Regions from separate parts of the Homo sapiens genome. Here all the other regions are linked to region 1. Evidence: promoter capture Hi-C in human tissues and cell types (Jung and others, 2019). All regions are on one chromosome and are shown on one strand. Each heading gives the region's core, a stretch centred on a gene start or on the middle of the fragment in contact. The rest is flanking DNA. Distances are from core to core; before and after follow the strand shown.

What was found. Contacts are between HindIII fragments. The study calls those that stand out against the background at their distance.
Region 2: a contact is called between a fragment that was not itself captured here and the fragment with the promoter of PSAT1 in region 1, in 1 of the 25 tissues and cell types used here (aorta).
Region 3: a contact is called between a fragment that was not itself captured here and the fragment with the promoter of PSAT1 in region 1, in 1 of the 25 tissues and cell types used here (hippocampus).
Region 4: a fragment that was not itself captured here is called in contact with the fragment with the promoter of PSAT1 in region 1 in 1 of the 25 tissues and cell types used here (adrenal gland).
Region 5: a contact is called between a fragment that was not itself captured here and the fragment with the promoter of PSAT1 in region 1, in 1 of the 25 tissues and cell types used here (hippocampus).
Region 6: a fragment that was not itself captured here is called in contact with the fragment with the promoter of PSAT1 in region 1 in 1 of the 25 tissues and cell types used here (hippocampus).

Annotation. Positions count from the first base shown.
Region 1 is chr9:78,295,468-78,298,855 of GRCh38, forward strand. It overlaps PSAT1 (phosphoserine aminotransferase 1), which reads left to right and starts at 1,658. Exons shown (of 9, transcript NM_058179.4): 1 at 1,658-1,803. The coding sequence starts at 1,744. RefSeq lists enhancers at 744-1,013, 904-1,487, 1,488-2,071 and a silencer at 2,024-2,263. The HindIII fragment of the contact is 7,295 bases long and covers 1-3,388 here.
Region 2 is chr9:77,882,228-77,885,615 of GRCh38, forward strand. The region is part of intron 2 of GNAQ (G protein subunit alpha q); the gene reads right to left. Among named protein-coding and RNA genes, the nearest start is that of GNAQ, 150 kb to the right of the region's middle. The HindIII fragment of the contact is 5,721 bases long and covers 1-3,388 here.
Region 3 is chr9:77,907,039-77,910,426 of GRCh38, forward strand. All of the region lies in intron 2 of GNAQ (G protein subunit alpha q), which reads right to left. LOC107987081 (a long non-coding RNA gene) reads right to left here. Exons shown (of 2, transcript XR_001746758.3): 2 at 1-3,388. Among named protein-coding and RNA genes, the nearest start is that of GNAQ, 120 kb to the right of the region's middle. The HindIII fragment of the contact is 4,825 bases long and covers 1-3,388 here.
Region 4 is chr9:77,942,451-77,945,838 of GRCh38, forward strand. All of the region lies in intron 1 of GNAQ (G protein subunit alpha q), which reads right to left. Among named protein-coding and RNA genes, the nearest start is that of GNAQ, 88 kb to the right of the region's middle. The HindIII fragment of the contact is 3,237 bases long and covers 1-3,194 here.
Region 5 is chr9:77,969,289-77,972,676 of GRCh38, forward strand. All of the region lies in intron 1 of GNAQ (G protein subunit alpha q), which reads right to left. Among named protein-coding and RNA genes, the nearest start is that of GNAQ, 61 kb to the right of the region's middle. The HindIII fragment of the contact is 6,234 bases long and covers 1-3,388 here.
Region 6 is chr9:78,011,194-78,014,581 of GRCh38, forward strand. All of the region lies in intron 1 of GNAQ (G protein subunit alpha q), which reads right to left. Among named protein-coding and RNA genes, the nearest start is that of GNAQ, 19 kb to the right of the region's middle. RefSeq lists a silencer at 1,138-1,290. The HindIII fragment of the contact is 6,830 bases long and covers 1-3,388 here.

The sequences.
Region 1 (3,388 bases), core at 408-2,907:
GTAGTAGGTTGCTCATCAACCCAAGCAGCCACATCAGCTTGGGCAGTGGAAACAACTCAGCCATATCTTTTGGGAACAGAGGACCAAATGGATGTGCTGTCCCTTCTCCCAACCCACTACATGGGACTGTGTATAGCCCTGGTGTTAGGAACTAACTCCAGGAAGGATGAAGGCTGACTCCCTTAGTCTCCAGTAGATAAGCTGCTAGGGGCAGCTACTAATATATAATAACTGAGTTATTTACGTAAAATAATGGATATGTGATGCTTCTTGCATGCCTGAGTTTCTGGGCTGAGATTTATTCTGTCTTGAATGTCGCGGTTTTCTTAATGAAGTTGCTGAGGAACGCAGGGGCCTTGTTCATTTTGCCTTTTTCTGGAAACTTTGTCCTCCAATTCCCAGATCCAGAGCAGTGCCTCTGCTCTCAGCCCCATACCGCCCACATTCTCATTAGGAAAAGCAAACAAAAGCCAAAGTCCTGTCCAGTTACAAGCCTTCTCTAAACGGGGCAGTTGGACTGTATATATTCCTGGCGCATCAATTTTACTCAGACAGGGAAAATATTTTTACATTAAAAGAAACTAGGTTAAATTATGGTAGAGAATGCAAAATTCACAGTTTAAAAATGATGAAATTCCAGACTTCAAAGGAACTTCTTTCTTGCAGGGTAGGGGGAGGGTATTCTGTTTCAGAACCCCATGCGGGTCTCCACTGGAGTTCTTTTGAGAAGGACACTTCTGTGGAAAAGTTTGAGCAGCTCTGGCCCTGCGCCTGGCCTGGCTAGGGGCCACCTTCTTCTGGTTTGGGCTGCAGCGCCCTATGGGTATCGCGTTCTTGTTAATATCTCCTCACGTTTCTAAACTCACAGCTTGTCAGCGCGGGCGCAACCTGAGAGCTGTCGCAGGTTTCCAGCTCACTCGTTTCCCAAAGGAGGAAATGGAGAATCAGCGACTTTAAAGGACTTGCCTGGCGGGCATCCACGCTTCCCAGGCTATCGCTCCTCCCTGCGTCCTTGGCCACCTCCGTTCTTTAATCCTGCAGGAACTCAGGACCCACGTGCAAATACAAAGAACCGTATCCACCCACCCCCGGCCCTTCTTCATCCTGCGCTTCCAACCTTGGGGGGGTCCTCTCTCTCCACTGGGGTATCTGACGCCCGTGGGGGGTGCTTAGAAAAGTTTGGTAGATTAGTGACTGGTGGTTCTGGAACAAATACATCACAGCCCAAACTGGGGGCTGGTGGTGGAGAGGTGGGTGGATGGGGGCTACAAATCTGCTCGGCAACTGCCCTTTCAGCCAAGAGAGAGGAGCTGAGGTCCTCTGGGGTTGGAGGACTGGAACCGGCCAGATTGCGGGCTCAAGGGGCGAAGGCAGGTTGGCAGGGGCAGCCTCTTCCCGCCGCCCACAATCCTCGGGCGGGCGCGCAGCCGAGCCGGCTCGGCTGGCTGGCGCAATCTCGCGCGCTCCTTGCATTGATCAAAAATGGGGGTTGAAACAGTAAACGCGAGGAGGAGCAACTGCTTCGACTCGGCTCAGAAGCGCGACCAATGGGGATGTGAGCTCCTTCGCGCGAACCAATTAGCGCAGGGCCTGCGACAGCACGGGCCAATGGGGCGCCGACTCGGCGCAGGAACAAGGCGGGGGTTCGGGGCCGGCTGCAGACTCTCACCGCAGCGGCCAGGAACGCCAGCCGTTCACGCGTTCGGTCCTCCTTGGCTGACTCACCGCCCTGGCCGCCGCACCATGGACGCCCCCAGGCAGGTGGTCAACTTTGGGCCTGGTCCCGCCAAGCTGCCGCACTCAGTAAGTCCCCGCGAGCGGGCGCCGGGAGTGAGGTTCAGGCGGGAGCACGCACGCGGGTGGGTTTGCATCCCTGCGTGTGGCAGTCGGATTCCCGCTCCCTGCCTTGAGTCCCCTAGGCGCTTTGCATCAGCGTGCACAGCGGGATCAGCAGCTCCGGCAAGCGGGCTTCGGGAAGAATGCAGTTGGTGAGGAAGCTCGGCGAGGCGTGCCCGTGCAGCTGCCCCTGGCCCTGACTGCTGGTGCGAGGCAGTGCACGACTCAGCTGGCCGGGGCCTGCTGTCCCGCCGGTGCCACGCACCTGCAGACGCCCGGGCTGTGCCATCTCCTGGGCCGGTCCGGGGGCTGGGGCGGGGCGAAAAAGAAAAAGCTCTGATCTCTGCCTTCGCCTCGCGCAGCTGTGCGGCGAGCCCGGGCAGTGTGGAGCGGATGCATGAATGGACATAGTGTGAATGAGTGATGAACGGGAATGAACCGATGACAGGTTTTGCATATGCAGTGGATCACGTTAGCTGAAAGGGATTGCAAACTTAAAGGTCCGCGTGTGCGTGCCCCCCTACGCCTTACACCAGTGTTTGCTTTAGCCAGCACTTAGGAACACTGCTTTTCAGAAATGTAAATTTGAAAACCTTCAGTCCAGCTTTCCCCTCCTTGTCCCCCATAGAACCTACCCTTTCCTAAAGCCTTTCTCCCCACCCCCCTCCTTTTTTTAACCTGCTTGTCCCCTAAAGGCGTTCGAGTATTCTAACTCTGGTAGACTTTGGGCTGCTTAACCCAATTCCCTGTTCATTTCGTTCTGGAGTAAACCGAGTGATTGAATTCTCTCCCGGGCCACAATCAGATCTTGCTGGTGGAACTCACTCTCTGCCTTCCCAGGCCCCAGCCCGGCTCCTCCCCTCCCCCGCCAAACCCACCGTCCCCAGCCCCACCCGCAGTGAAGAAGGCAAAGTCTCCGATGTGCCTTGAGCCCATTGTCAGGCGGCTGCCGCCGCCGTTAGATTTTTATTTTTCTAACCAGGATAGAGCTGATAATATGTTGGAGCAGCATGAGGCATAGCCAAGTATTTTACAATTATCAATTGTTGAGCAGAGTAGAAATCTCCCTGGGACAGAGCCTCCTCTGTGTTGTGGTAAGAACAGAGAATCCAATTTTAAAGGGGAAAGGACTTCTTACTTTTCTAGGGGCAGCGCTCACAGTAGCTGAGAGGACAGGGCTTATTTTTTCTCAGTGGTTACAGTTCATTTTAGGCGAGATTCCCTGCTCCAGCTGTGGAGATGTTTCCTGTAGCCTCCTCCTGCACCCCCCATGTTTTGGAGTGTTCCCAACGTTTGTTCCCTATGTATTTCGTTATTAATTTATTACTATAATTGTAATGGCAATTGTCATCAGTAATACAATTATTTGTTATTAATTTTTCTGGGAGGATTTTTGCCCTTGGACTGCATGTAACCTGGGGGGCAGGAGGGTGAGGGGGCAGGCAGATGTTGCTTTTTATGTATTTCCTTGATTTAGTTGAATTGTAAATATTAGAGAAGCTTTCAAACTTCTTTTGACTGTAACCTACAGTGAAAAACATGTTTACAAAAT
Region 2 (3,388 bases), core at 626-3,125, 410 kb before region 1:
CCTGCTGATATATGAGTTGATTTGAGGTTCTTTTCTCTTTCCCCAAACATAGGAAAAGTGGTAAATAAAATGGGAGATGAGAATTACTGTTCCAGATCTTGTATTTAAATAACCCAAATTGAACCCAGAAGCTTAAAAAAATAAGCCATCTGGACGGCAGTTTGGCAAAACCTTTGACCCAGCAAATTACACTTCTAAGAATTTAACTAAAGGTTGCAAACAAGCAAGATAAAAGGTTTTCAAGAATTTCACCGCATCACTGCTTATACTGGTGAACAACCAGAGATAATCTAAATGTCCAACAACCTGGGTTGATTATGCGAGCTGTTTAAAGATATACAATGGGAAAGTCCACAGCCACTAACACAGGGCTAGAGAAGATGGCCAAATGACATGGAATGGTATTCACCACGAGGTTCATGAAAAATGATGTGTTGAGATCCAGTTTTTGGTGAGATAGAAAAAAAGCATAGGAAAAAAACTAGAAAGATACTATTTTAGAAGTATTCACAAGCCTATCAGGAAATGACACTTGATGGGATTTTTTTTTTCGTTTTCACTTGTCTGTATTGTCTAAATTATTTTTGTAATAAACTATTTTTAAAGTGCCTTTGTGCAGATGAGATACACAGGAATATGTTACTGTTTCTGAGGGAAACTATCTGAGCATTTAACTTATTCTCATGATTTCCATACCAATAAGTCTATTGTTGTTACCAAACACATATATCAAAGCCATGTCTAAAAGAGTTAGCACCCTTCTGAGAAAAAAAGCAAATTCTTAAAATCAAAATGCAAACACTTCAGTTCACAGCTTACTAACCCAAGAAACCATCTTACAAGAGAACAGATGTGATTAGTGAAATAAATTGTTTAAGTTACGGGGAAAAACATAGTCGCTGGAAGTTTAAGTAGGGACATGTTCCAGCAGTTAACTGAAATATAACTGATGTCCCATCTCTCCATTTCTCTCTATAAATAAGTCTTTACCCTGACTCTCTCCAGTGTGTCCCCAGCTAGCCTAGCCTCTGCCAGTGGCCAGGGAAGTGACACTGTGCCCTATATGAGAGTCTCCAGATGGTTACAGCAGCATCAAAAACATCCAGACACCTCATGTACCTTCATTCTCATTGCCTGATTTAGAGAAAAGAAACTTATGAATCAGAGTAGAGTGCTTTTCTAGGTAGGCTGAGGAACAGTGGTTACTTCTGACAGAGAAAAAAGGGGGTAGTTTTTTTTTTTTTTTTCCAAACCTTAGGTTCTGTGTTGTTGTTGTTTTAATTTTAGACTCAGGCAGTACATGTGCATGTTTTTACATGGGTATATGGCATACTGGCGGGGACTGGGCTTCTAGTGTATCCATTCCCCAGCTAGTGAACATTGAACCTATAGGTAATTTTTCAACCCTTGCCCCCGCCCCCACTCTCCTCGCTTTTGGCATTCCCAGTATCTATTATAAGGCTTGGGTTTTAATATACCTGCTTCTGCACTGAGTCTGTGGACCAGGGTACAATCAGAGTTTTTGGTCTCTAGGAAAATGTGCTCTGTCCCATGTGGTCACACCCTATCTTTGCTTCCTCCACTTACTCCAAATCCAAACTGTCTAGTCTCTGTTCCCTGTTCATTGCCCACCAAAGTAGTTTTGATAATTCATGAAGTAGAAACTGCCAAGTTTATTTAACACTGTCACAGGCTCTCAAATTCTTCTCAAGATTTTGGTATTTCAGAAAAACAGGTTTAACTGAAGACAAGAGGATGTCTTTGACCAACAAGTATGCCCTCAAAACAGAAATGGAGGGAGAATTCTCTAACTGCAGATAAAATCTCAGGATGGGTGGCTGCTCTGGGTGAGAAGCAAATAATGCAACAACTGACAAAAAGAGACAGCCAGCCCAAGAAGATGCTCAGAGCTACTAGCATTTCTATAGCTTCAGAAACACTCTCAGGGTTGGAACTGGGAGGGGAAAAAAGATTCTCTCTGAAGCTGTGTAGGTGACTCCTCCAGCACTTGCTTCTGGCAAGCCCCTGTGGGGGTGTGAAGGCTTGTTCTAATCCAATCTGCCTGCTGAGCCAGCTGCCTTGAGGACCACTATGTGCCAGTTGTCTCTAATCAGTCTGCTGGCCATTTTGCCTGACTTCTCTGTTCTGCTATATTTCAGAGGAAGAGAAAATGCAAACGACTATTAGGAAACCAAAAGAAGGCTTATTTCAAGCGGGAAAAAATTTTAAAGCATGAAAGAAAACAATGAACGAAGCAAGCTGCAACAAAAGTGCGACTTCCCATAATGGTGAATAAGGAGTTAGGAATCTGAGTTAGGAATCCTAGCTGCAAAGCCAGAGATGCCTGGAGAATAAGTTCTCCACCCCACCCCCTCAAACTGAAGCTAAAACTCCACCTATACCTGTTGTCATCATTGGTGGCTGCTCTTAATAAGGTCATTCTTTCCTAAGGAGGACAGGCTGTGGCTGTTCACTCGGGAAGCATAGTTTGCATCTCAGTACACCCATCTACCCCATCATAGTCTAAGTTTCAATCAGCATTCCCTTAACTATAAATGTCTCATTTTACCTGGGAGAGGTCAATGCCCCAAGGGCACTGTGAGTTAAGAAACTGGTCAAGAATCAGCAATCCCTTGTAGGTGTCAGAGTTCAGAGAGGGAGATTTTGAAAAGAAAGTACTATTCTCCTTTGTAGCTTTGTGATCTTGCGGAAATACACCCATTTCTCAAAGCTTTATCTGTAAAATGGAGAAAATAATGGAACCCACCTGCTGGGTTTCTAAAGACTAAATAAGACTACACAGATTCCTGGCCTATACCAAGCTGTCCAAAGTCAGGGACTATTACTGTTACAGTAATAACAGAGTTTCGGATGGGTTTTAGAGATATTTGTCCCATACCTTCATTTTGTAGCTAAGAAAACCAGAGGTAAGGGCAATGAAGAAATGTGCCCAAAGTTGTGGTCTTTTTTGGAACCTCCCAGTGCCTCATCATGCAGGAGTACCCTGACAGAGGCCTAAACTCTACTCAAGCTCAGGAAGTCAGCAAGCTCAAGGAGCCGGGGAAGGCTGAGACCAGCCAGGCACACAGCCAGGTGAAAATGAGGATGCAAGCAAAACTCCAAGAACAAACTGGAATTCTAAGTGAGCTTTGCTGAAAAGTGAGGGTAGTAGGTTTTAATGAACTATTTTCTTTCTATTTGTTAAGGGGAGAAAAAAGCAAACACATACCAACAGGGTCGGCCCTGTCCAGCACAACTCTCTGAGAGTTAACTGTGCTTTAGCAACTGAGTTCAGAAAGGGAGAAAAGTATAAATTAGATTTCTGTTTAACTTTCCCAGTAGCTACAGCATTCTACATTTACAGCCCACAAAAACAATCCTTTGCTTT
Region 3 (3,388 bases), core at 392-2,891, 390 kb before region 1:
GTTTTTCTATTTGAGAAAAAGAAAAAAGGATCTAGTATTTATAGAAACAAGCTTCTTAATTTCAAGTGTACAGCTATGTTCACATACCAGAGGTGTTTCATAATTCATGGGCAAGTTATTTTTCTGCTGCATAAGCTTTCCAATCACTTTCTTGATTTGTGACCAAGTTTTTCATAGAGTTGTGCATTTCATTATCCCAAGACTGCAGTGGTAATTAAGATGCCTTCCCTGGCTCCTAACAAAGATATCGCCATGGGAAATGGTCAGAAAATGGACAAACACCCAGCACTGCCAGATGCATCACTACATGCACCAACCCAGAACAGCAGGAAAGGAGGCAAAGAAAGGGAAATAAGGAAAGAAAGAAAGAATATATGAGCTTTCCTATAGAAACTCTGCCTTGACTGCACATTAAAGAACTAAATAATTTTGTTAAGTATCTTGCCTCTCCAATGAGACTGCAAGTCCCCATAAGCAAAGTACATGTCTTACACTTCCTCTGGCTCGAAGAGAAATGAAAAATACTTGGTGGCATTTTAAAAATTATTTAAGTCGATGTGAAGTGTGTGGATTAACAAAAAACATAAAGAACAAGTAAAAGGAGTGTACAGTCAAGAAGGAGAAATCAAATAGGTGGTATCAGAGTTAAAAGTTTAAAAGATCCATAATAATAGTGGTATCATGTAATCGGCTCTCTGATTAAATACTGACTCATTCATTCCATAGTATTTACTGAGCCTAACTGTGGGTCAGGCCCTTTGCTAGGTCCTGGGGACACGGCAGTAACTTTAGCTGGCTGAAGTGGTGGAAAGACAGCTGGAGTGGCCACAGGTAACTGCATTTACTCTTTTGCACAAGAAAATTAAATACATGTGTCCTAGGTGCCAAAGGTGTTTATGGAGTCAAGTATACGAGCTGCCTTTAGGGAATTAAGCCTAATTCTGGGTTGGGCTTAATCCAGCCCCATAAACTTAAAAATTGAGTTATTTGGGGCAGGTATTTTAAACATTTTTCATCTGTAGAATTAGAACACTACTACTTACCTCACATTTTGGAGCATATTAAATGAAAAAGGCCCAGAAGTGGTTGGCTAAAGTTATTTCTCTCCCTTTTTCTTCTGTCCCTTTGCCTCTTTCGTTATTCGACTATCTGCCTCCTTCCTTACCTTACAAACACCCTGCAGTCAAGGGAAAAAAGTTAAGACTCCTTTATCTCAGCAGTGACAGAAATCCATGAACCCCTTCAGAAGGGCCCCCACTTTCATTGACATTCTGATGCCTTAAATCCTACCAGAGGCCAGCCACTGCTCCCAAGAAACCACTGTTGCACCGGATCATGGAACCCAAGTCTCATTCTTGGATCATAGCCTCTTGTATGTCTTTAAACAATAAGCAATTTCTTCTCAAATACTGTGCACTTTCCCCAAACAGATATACATTTCTCCTGACCTAGCACTTTCTGGGAAGAATTCAACAACCATTTAGTAGACACTGACTATGTTGATGTTATTGTCCCAAAAGTTTTGCATCTATATATTGTCATTAATGCTCACACTAACCATACAAAGTGAATACTATTATCTCCTCACATTTCCGACAAGGCATAGCATGGAGAGTTTAAATAATTTGCTGAATGTCTCATGGCCAAAATCCTATTGAAGTATTTTCTGGGATCTTCTCTCCAAAAGGTAGCCTACTGGTGATTTCATATTGCCTCTGGTGGCAGAGAGTCAGTTACTTCCAAGAGGCCTTTACTTTGGGCTGCTTCAGCATCAGCTTGTGAGGAAAGCAGAATCTCAGGCCCACCCTGGATCTACTGAAATACAAATATGCATTTTAATGAGAGCCTCACATGATTTGTATACATATTCAAGTTCGAGAAGCAATACTCTAGAACACAAAATCAATGTTCTCAACCTCACATTCAGTTAGGAAGACCCAAAGCTGTCATCACTGGAATATGTGGCACTTCTGTGCATATGAGAATAATGTACCCACCTCTCCACTTTCTGTTTATAGAGTCTGGCAAAAAGAGAGTGCTGTAGAGAGAAAAAGGCACCCCTTCCTCTGGGCCACCATTCTCCTCCATGGCTGGCAAAAACTGCACAACACTGATACACGCCACCCACAAAGCATATGGTATTGATTATTTTATGCCAAGGATCAAGGTCAACTGAAAGGTGAATCTAAAAGTATTTTAATCCCCAACTTTAGTGAGGTACTTTGACTGCAGTGTTCCATTAATACAATCAAACAGCTACATGATCTCATCCTGTTGCCATCCACCAGCTGCCCAGTAGATAGTAAAATGGCTAGAAGACGGTCAAGAGAAGAAAGACTAGGCTAGTGCCTTAGAGAATGCACACACAATCACCTAATTAACTGAACTCTTACCACAGAAGCACTGTTTTTAAGGACGTTTCACCACCTCACAGGGAGGCCAATATCGACAACACTCAGTACAGTCTTCTTTTTAGTTCAAAACCGTTATACTTTTTACCACAAAGGAAGTGTGCACATTGACAGAAGCAGATAACCTACCAGCCAATCCAATACTACTGCTCATCTCAGCGGGGATATCACATTTCTTGATATATGCCAGTCCTTTCAGTTACATTTCAGTTTTAACAAATAACACAAGATAGTAAAAAAAAAAAAAACAACAACTGCATATGCATCTTACAAAGTGGTAGCAACAACTTAAAGGTATCTTCTTAACAAATTCACTTTAAGAAACATAAAATCAGGAAAATAAAGGTGGTAAAAGTATACATTTATACGGGAAAAGCCAAAATGAGTAACTGCAGCTATTAATGAAGAGCTTATTTTTTTCTCTCCTGAAAGGAAAAGTATCATAATATAACATGAAATGACACAAAAAGTCATTTTTTAAAGTGCATTTCTTGCTGATATTCATGTTTGGATATACATGCTTGTACTAATGAAAATCATGAGTAGGTTAACAACATACTATTTAAAAACATAATTGCATAGCAGGTGTAAGTAATTTAGGGCAAAACAATATAATAAAGAATAAGACTACAATTCCTGAGAAGCAACAAGTTTTTAGGTTTTGATACATGCTATTAAAATGAAGGAAACTATTGCTTTGCTAAATATTAAGTAAGCACTACCCTGATTTTCTACAATAGCAAAAACTAAGTGCATCACTGAGATGACTTCTCCAGTGGCGTAAAAATGAGAAGGAAATGCCCCAGCATTTCTCATATCCTCCCTCGACCTCCATTCAGGCATTCACTTTCCTTGGCTCCAACAAATATATTCTGCCTAACTGAAAATAGATGCATTGTTTTAAAATTAACAAGGGAAAACAATACATTACTTGGTTTAAAAGAACAAGGAAAGTATTCATCTGATGCTTTGCCAGG
Region 4 (3,388 bases), core at 326-2,825, 350 kb before region 1:
TGAGTACTGTGATATACTTGCAAAATGGTTGGCTGGACAGAGCAGAAACAGAACTGGCATGCTGGATGAAAACCACAGCCTTTACATTAGTAACCCTTGTCCTAATCAATGGAAACAAAAAATAATAAGGCATTCCCAATAGATTTCCTGGGAAACTCACCAAAAAGTAGAAAATCAATCAACACCCCACCACATATATTCCTCATAGTCCTTGACCTCAGGACCCTAAACACAGTAGAGGATCAAAGAAAAAAGGGTAATGCATAATTATCTCAACTGCACCCCTTCAAATATCCACATGTAGAAAACTTTTAAAAATAAAGACACTTGAAATCTACCAGAATATGATCAATAGCTGTGTCTGGCTTGTAAAAATACAGGTTATATTATCTTTTTGTCTGTATTTTACAAATTTCTAACAAGCATTTACAAATTAAATTTTAAGCAATCTTTGCAATCCTTGCAAATCTGCTGCACTTGGATCCAATAATTAACCAACTGGTTATTTGACTGTAAATGAGTGAATTTACCTTTCTGGTTTTCATTTATCATTAAATGGGCTGGGAATGATGACTTCTTAATGGATAGAAACAAAATCCATGAAAAAAGAGTACTATTTTTAGAAGTTCCACTAGTCCCAGTTAGCACATAAGACTAATAACCTCACAAGGCAGATGTTGGGCATTGCAGAACCCATTTCTGACCTCAAAAGCTCTCAGGTCAACATAGATTTGAAGATTATTCTAACCCAGGGAACCAAGGAAAGGGCTCCCCTCAGGGGTTTTGGTTCCTGAGTCAAATTTGAGCCTCAAGATCATTTTAAAGCCAAGCTACAAACCACAAAAGAAACTTAAGAGATATTAACTACAGTATATACTGACACATGTTCGACGTGTCTTGAGAAAAGGAAAAATATGTTGTAACAGATTTGCAAATGTAACATGACACGGGCAAGAACACTGGGAATGTTAGTCCCTTTTCTGCGATTAAAATGTTTGACTTTCAGTAGTCACAGGAATAATATGGGTCACAATTCTCCCATATTTACAAGAGTCAGACTGGATAAACTCAAAAGTGTCTTCTCTTTCTATAATGATATAAATCTCTAGTATGCACATTCATGTGAGACCACTCTTAATTAAAGCTTGATTTCCTCTACTACACAAATTGGAAAAAAAAATAAAGTACCTTTATCCTGGAAGTAACTAACTTTTTTTTTTTTTTTTTTTTTGAGACGACGTCTTGCTCTGTTGCCCAGGCTGGAGTGCAGTGGCGTGATCTTGGCTCACTGCAACCTCTGCCTCCTGGGTTCAAGCAATTCTCCTGCCTCAGCCTCCCAAGAGTAGCTGGGATTTACAGGTACACAACACCACGCCTGGCTAATTGTTGTATTTTTAGTAGAGATGTGGTTTTGCCATGATGGCCAGGCTGGTCTCCAACTCCCTACCTCAGGTGATCCACCCACCTCAGCCTCCCAAGGTGCTGGGATTACAGGCGTGAGACACAGTGCCTAGCCAGTGACTTCTTATTTTAAAATTGTCCCATGTGGTGTTAGGCAACTACCAGAATACTGCTTTAGAAGAACATTCAATAGTGAGAAAATATGTTCCTCATATATTAGAAGAGAAAACAGGCAGGCAGTATGAACGAATGATACCTGTTCAAAATCTACTGATTCATTCAGAATACATACATAATATTAACAATAGGATATCTGGCTAATGGCAATACTAGTACTTTTTTTCTTAATCTTTTCAGTATTTCAAAAATCTGGTACATTTGAAAATAAATTACTTTCATAATCAAAAACTATAATAAAAGCATTTTAGAATTATTCCAGTGGGGCTCACAAATCTTCCGCCATACCAGATCACCTGGCTCCATCAAACAACCAATAGAGGCTGTTTTATGAAGCTGTGTATACAAGATGCAGGTTGTCACTTAAACCATTCATTTAAAACACTCAATCATCCTTGCACCATCAAGCCGCCTCACCCCATATATCCTCTTTAGACCAGAAACCAAACCATTCCTATTCCCTCCTCCACCAAACTTACCATTCAGCAACCTCTGAGGCCCCTCTGGTCAGGCCCAGTAGAAAATATGTTTGGGAGTAGGTGGAAGTTCATGGGACCCCTCACATAACTCTGTGAACCACCATTTCTTCCACTGAGGCATTGCTCCAACCTCTGCCACTCATTGTAACGCAAGAGAAATCTGGTCTGCCACTTTGACACTAACTTAGCTTGCCCAGTGTGAAATTAACTGTGTAAAGTACAGTAAAATATTCAGTGAACACAAGATGACACACTGCCTCTTTAAAGCAGCTGTGATTCCATAATTACCTGTTTGTGATTGGAGTGACAAGAAGATCTGAATAATTCAGGTATTCAGAGTCTAAATACTTTACGAAACAGCTAGTTCTGGAAGGATATAAATCCAAAGAGAGCAAAGGAAACAAGGGAGAGCCACTCTGCTCATGTGGGCTGTCCCATCCAAGAACACCAGGGGTCTCAACCCACCGCAGAGAATTCAGCAAGGCGGCTGGGGAAGCACAAAGGTCTGTCAGCTTTCCAGTTCCTTCTGAGTCTGTCTTCACAGTGCAACTTCCTTATTTGTTTGAAGTATTGTAAATTCCGAGAATATCAGGCACACCCATACTCAAATGTAAGTAGAAAAACACATCGCAAAGCCAAATACAAATTGGTTCTTGGGCTATTAACTGGGGATCATCCATCAGATAAGGCTGATTTTCTTCTTTTAAGTGTTTAATGTGGCACCTTCACAAAAGAGGTAAATCTATTTGCCAGCTTTGAAAATGTAGCACTTGAAACAGATATGAAGTAGCTATAAAGTTGCTTTACTCAAAAAGTAAGAAAATAAGTAGTTTAAAAAAAAAGAGAGAGAGAGATTTCTTAAATTCCACACTGCTTTGTTACCACTAAACTAAATGTACTGCCTCAGGTTGTGTCTGTCTGGGTTATGATTACATGCAAAACCTAGGTCAAAACGGCCCTCCATTATTTTATGCATGTGGCTTTTCAATAAAGTGTTTATTAGGAAAACAGAAAAAGCCTTCTTATTTTGGAAAATGCCTTAAAATGCTTAATTACCTAGGTTAGAGGTAAGCTACATACTCACGGATGAAAAATATATCCTCTTAGGGAAAAAAACCCGGTTGCCCTAATTATACATGGATGATCTAATTAAACTGTCATTCACAATTCATTAAAGCTATTAATAAATCATAAATGGGCAAAAGGGATAATATAGTTAAATTTATAGGAGCATTAAGACCTATTAAAGGCAGCCAAGTACTAGTGGTGAAGTTCCCTAAGAACATGAACTTTACACCTCATCCAAGGGACCCTTAGAGGCCGCATCTAAA
Region 5 (3,388 bases), core at 418-2,917, 330 kb before region 1:
TAACACACCCGAATTACCATCCAGCGCCCTAAAGCATCAATTTAAGAATTTTTGCTGGACTGAAAGTTAATGCAATCATCAAAGTTTCCAATTTAAACTCAGGAATTAGCTTTACTGCCCAAGATCTTGCCTCCCTATACAATTAGCCTGATGCGACAGCCAATTTAACATTTCCTGACATGGAAGAATACAATTAAGGCCAACTTAGAAACAAAAAGTCATAAAATGTAGATGATGGAAGAGAGGTTACATTATATATAATACAGATTATACTAATGTATGTTTTATATAAGTACATACTATGAATTTTACTAATACACTAACAGTTTTAAATATCGCACAGCAAAATCTTCAGTAGTTTGAAGAGCACTGGAAAACAACCCAGCTTACTTTCTAGCCACATCAACAGTTCAACACTATGGATTTTCCAGGAAATTGGGGGCAGCTCTTTCTTTAAATATGTGAAGGCATCAAATTCATATATCCATCAGGCATGTAATGCATGCCTACTAAATGTAAGGCAAAAGGAGCAAAGTGTTGTCTTAATTTCAGGCATGCATTCCGTAGACACAGAGACCAGTACCCATTTCTCTAACTCACCACCAAATTCTTCATGAGCAACTTCATGAGCCAAAGATCTGAACCTTGTTACGAAAGTGATGGCTTATGCCTGTAATCCCAGCACTCTGGGAGGCAGAGGCGGGCAGATCACCTGAGGTCAGGAGTTTGATACCAGCCTCGTCAACATGGTGAAACGCTGTCTCTACCAAAAACACAAAAATTAGCCAGGTGCAGTGGTGCACGCCTGTAATCCCAGCTACTTGGGAGGCTGAGACAGAAGAATCGCTTGAACCCGGGAGATGGAGGTTGCAGTGAGCCCAGATTTATGCCACTCCACTCCAGCCTAGGCAACAGAGCAAGACTCCATCTCCACAAAAAAAAAAAAACAAACAAACAAACAAAAAAAACTGACTGAGTCACAAACTCCTCCTCTCTACTCTGCCCCGTGCTCCTGCTCAGTTCCACATTGCAAACCTGCATCACATCTGCCCTGGACACAAGTTTTCTTCCCAACTTGATTCAGTGTTATCAAAAAGTTACCAACGGCCCAACTGCACACACACATCAGGAAGAGAGGCACCTATGGCTTTTCAAAGGCAGTATGGTGGGCTATAATCAAAATCTGGGGTTGAAGGCAGGGGCAGTCCTCTTCCCATTCTGCCTATTCATCCTTAAAACATTAACTTTAAAAACATAGACTAAGATTTGAAGGGAGAAATAAAGATGTTCTTTGAAACCAATGAGAACAAAGACACAGCGTACCAGAATCTCTGGGACACATTTAATGCAGTGTGTAGAGGGAAATTTATAGCACTAAATGCCCACAAGAGAAAGCAGGAAAGATCTAAAATCAACACCGTAACATCACAATTAAAAGAACCATAGACTCAAGAGAAAACAAATTCAAAAGCTAGCAGAAGACAAGAAATAATTAAGATCAGAGCAGAACTGAAGGAGATACAGACATAAAAAACCTTTCAAAAAAAATCAATGAATCCAGGAGCTGGTTTTTTGAAAAGATCAACAAAATAGACCCCTAATAAAGAAGAAAAGAGAGAAGAACCAAATCGATGCAACAAAAAATGATAAAGGGGATATCACCACCGATCCCACAGAAATACAAACCACCATCAGAGAATACCATAAACCCCTCTACACAAATAAACTAGAAAGTCTAAAAGAAATGGATAAATTCCTGGATACACACACCCTCCCAAGACTAAACCAGGAAGAAGTTGAATCCCTGAATAGACCAATAACAGGTTCTGAAATTGAGGCAATAATTAATAGCATACCAACCAAAAAGAAGTCTAGGACCAGACGGATTCACAGCCGAATTCTACCAGAGGTACAAAGAGGAGCTGATACCATTCCTTCCGAAACTATTTCAATCAACAGAAAAAGAGGGAATCCACCCGAACTCATTTTATGAGGCCAGCATCATCCTGACACCAAAGCCTAGCAGAGACACAACAAAAAAAGAGAATTTTAGGCCAATATCCCTGATGAACATCGATGCAAAAATCCTCAATAAAATACTGGCAAACCAAATCCAGCAGCACATCAAAAAGCTTATCTACCACAATTAAGATGGCTTCATCCCTGGGATGCAAGGCTGGTTCAACATACGCAAATCAATAAACGTAATCCATCACATGAACAGAACCAACGACAAAAACCACATGATCGTCTCAATAGATGCAGAAAAGGCCTTCGACAAAATTCAACAGCATTTCATGCTAAAAACTCTCAATAAACTAGGTATCAATGGAACGTATCTCAAAATAATAAGAGCTATTTATGACAGACACACCGCCAATATCATACTGAATGGGCAAAAACTGGAAGCATTACCTTTGAAAACCGGCATAAGACAAGAATGCCCTCTCTCACCACTCCTATTCAATATAGTATTGGAAGTTCTGGCAAGGGCATGGAATGTTTTTCCATTTGTTTGTGTCCTCTCTTATTCCTGAGCAGTGGTTTGTAGTTCTCCTTGAAGAGGTCCTTCACATCCCTTGTAAGTTGTATGTTGTATTCCTAGGTATTTATTCTCTTAGTAGCAATTGTGAATGGGAGTTCACTCATGACTTGACTCTCTGTTTGTGTGTTATTGGTGTATAGGAATGCTTGTGATTTTTGCACACTGATTTTGTATCCTGAGACTTTGGTGAAGTTGCTTATCAGCTTAAGGAGATTTTGGGCTGAGATGATGGGGTTTTCTAAATGTACAATCGTGTCATCTGCAACAGGGTGACTATCATTGAATATTACAAGGAAAGTTCTAGCCAAAATAATAACAATTAAAATGAAAAAAAAATACTAGAAACAAAATCATTAGTATTTGGGGATGATATAATTGCTTTTCTTTAAAAAACCCAAGAGAAAAAACTATTATAGAATTAAGAAAGTTAAGAAATATTCTACAAATATTAATCGTGCACGCACCATGGCAAATCCTGAGGCAGGTACTAGGGACACAACAGTGAGTAAAAAGAGGGACCCAGGATGCACTGTAGAGTCTAACAGAGAATAAAATTAAAATATAAGTTTCTCATACTGTTTTTTTTTCCTTTGTTCACAAAACAAATGCAAGTAACATCGGTTCCATTTTCAGGCAATTCAGTAAATGGGCTTCATAAGCCCACTAATAAATGTGAAAAACCCAACAGCTTTTCCATAATAAGTAAGTACTAGTTACAAGATACAATTTAAGAAGTCTATTCACTACAACAATCAAAAACAAAATATAAAATAACTAGGAATAAATTTAACAGGAAACGTAGGACCCATATAAATAAAAGGACAAGATTTCATTTACTGGCCA
Region 6 (3,388 bases), core at 624-3,123, 280 kb before region 1:
TGCCAGAGAGCACTCCCTACCACTCTACTCAGACAACTGAACAGCTAAAAATAGAATATATACCATCATCTTCCAGTCCTCCAGCTCAAGTGCTAAGGGAAAGATACAAACAGACCCAAGACAAATAGGGAAGGAAGTCAATGAGATTCCACCCACCCTATTTTTGGACAAATACAAGGGCCAGACAAAATTTGGAACATTCCTAAGCACAAATGAAGACAAGGCAAAGGACATGCAAAAGAAAAATGAAGAGAATGCTTTGAAAGGTTTACTCTAGAAAACAGAAGAAAAAAATGGACTATAATTGCTTTGCACTATATCAAGAAAATGTAACAAAATGTGCATTGTTGAAATAGGACATTCTAAAAAATAAGGTGAAACAAAAATTGTCAGAACTAAGAAAGGAAATAAGGAGAAAAAACAATAATACTGCAGAACTTAAAAATGAATCTGAAGCATCAAAGAGATAGCAGGTACTTCATTCATTTAACACCTACTTACTGGCACTTGACATTGATATTCAAAACAGTGCCAAATCAGCATTGCAGACAAGAGATTTGGGCAAACCACACAAATAATGGAGAGATACAGCAATTAGAGGGAAGCTAACAGCTTTGGCAGAGAAACAACAAAAATTCAATTATGAATGATTGGTGTACCTAAAGAAGAAAAACAATTCCTGTGGAATATTAAAAAAAATTCAATGATAAAATAGGCAAGATCCTTGAAATGAAAGAATATTATAGAGATGGAGTGGGTTCAGTGCTTCAAGATAAATAACAAAAATTATAAAACACTGAAGCATAACCTGGATACGTTGTTAAGCTTTCATGTTATAGAAACAAATAACCAAATTTTTAAAAAAGCAAATCACAAAGAAAAAATATTCAGGCTGGCCACAGACTTATCAAATCTATCTGCTGGGAAACAATGGAGAAAAATCTACTACGTGGCAAGCAAGGTAGGTAAAAAAGAGGTCTAATCCAAGAATTCTATACCCATGCAAGTTGTTATTAATATGTGCATGCCACAGAAAGGCATTTTCTTTTTTTTTTTTTTTTTGAGACGGAGTCTCACCTTGTCACCCAGGCTGGAGTGCAATGGCACAATCTCAGCTCACTGCAACCTCCACCTCCCAGGTTCAAGTGACTCTCCTGCCTTAGCCTTGCAAGTAGCTGGGATTACAGGTGCGCGCCATACAGATAGAGTTTCACCATGTTGGCCAGGTTGGTCTCGAACTCCTGACCTTGTAATCCACCCGCCTTGGCCTCCCAAAGTGCTGGGATTACAGGTGTAAACCACCTCACCTGGCCTCGGAAAGGCATTTTCAAATACCCAAGAATTCAGGAAATATATCACCCATGGACCCATCATTTAAAAACCTATCTGAAGGTATAATCTAGCCAACTCATAGATAAAAATAAATAAAAGCATATAATTAAATTGAGAGAAGAAATATTTGGTGATAAGCATTTAAACACAGAACTAATGCTAAATATGCATCTTAATTGCAGACACAAATATATATATACATATATGTACACAATTTCTCAAGGAAAACAGAATAAGTGATAAATGACAATATACTTAAATGAGGTTCCTTAGGTTTAATTATAATGATTCCCTGTGATCATCCCTGATATTCAATATGAAATCAAAGGGCTAAGAGTTTTAGAAAGTGTGAAAATAAATAAACTCTAGGTATGAAATTTGAGAAACTACTACAGAATCACTTTCAAAACATTAAAGATCACATTGGCTGCAAGATCAAATATTAACTTGATGCTAGCAGAGATGGACAAAAGACAGTGAAGAAAGGGGGCGTAAGTGGAAAGAAGAGTAAACTACTTCAGGATTAAGAGGGCAGAAATAGGTGAATTGCTAGGAATCCGTAATCAGGAGGAAGAACAGAATAAAGGAAATGTAAGTTAGAGCAATGAACGTGGCAGTGATCTGAACACCATAAACACCTCTCCTTCCATCTGACACAAATACCCATATTATATTGAAATTAAGGTAATTTCAATTTTATGCTTAGCCTTTTAATAACCATCAATAAATCCTAGACTTCAGAAAGATGCCCTTAGCCATTGACAATTTTATGTTTTTCTTACAAGACTTTTTTTTTTTTTATTATACTTTAAGTTTTAGGGTACATGTGCACAACATGCAGGTTAGTTCCATATGTATACATGTACCGTGTTGGTGTGCTGCACCCATTAACTCGTTATTTAACATTAGGTATATCTCCTAATGCTATCCCTCCCCGCTCCCCCCACCCCACAACAGGCCCCGGTTTGTGATGTTCCCCTTCCTGCGTCCATGTGTTCTCATTTCTAACAAGACTTTTATCATTTTATATATCCAATGTTGCCTCTGAGAAGACTATTAAGAAAATAAATATATAAAATAAAATGTGTTGATGTTATTACTAACCACGAAGACTTAGAGAACCATTCTAAGTCTGGTATTGCTAATTTGTCTATAACAGACAGGAACAAAAAAGTTAATACACGCAAATAAAATACCACAAAAAGCAGAAAATGGAGTAATCAGAGGTTGGCAAATACCTGCCAGAATGCCAAATCCTGCTTCTGTTTGTTTTTGTAAATAAAATTGTATTTGAACATAGCCATACTCATTTATTAACAAACTGTTTGTGGCAGAGTTGAGTAGTTCTAATAGAAGCCATATAGCCCAAAAGCCAAAAATGTTTACTATCTAACCCTTAAAGTTTGCTGATGATCCTTGGTATAGGTGAAAAAAATTTCCCTCCCATGCAGGGGAGGGACATATAATACCATTTGATCTCTGAAGATGATAAACTGAGAAACATAAATTGAATATGACTACTAAAAGTTATATAGGCTACCAACAGTAAAATTAAAAGCAGAGTACATACCTTTCAAATTATCAGTGTGGAAAGCACAACAAACCCAATACAAATTCCAAAGGAGTGAGAAAGAGAAAAGGAAATAATGGAGGAGGAATAGGGGTAGCTGCAAGAAATCAAGAAAGAATCAGAAAACAGAAATCAGACGCCAATACACCCTAACATTATTCATCATACATCAAGTGTAACAAGAACAAACTCAACTATTTTAAGAAAAGATTCACTCAGGCTGAGGTTTAAAAAAACAAAAACTTTAGGCCAGGCGTGGTGGCTCACTCCTGTAATCCCAACATTTTGGCAGGCCTAGACGGGCAGATCACGAGACCAGCCCGACCAACATGGTGAAACCCCCCTACTAAAAATACAAAAATTAGCTGGGTGTGGTGGTGCATGCCTATAATCCCAGCTACTTAGGAGGCTGAGGCAGGAGAATTGCTTGAACCCGGGAAGCAGAGGTTGCTGTGAGCCGAGATAGCGCCACTGCACTCCAGCCTG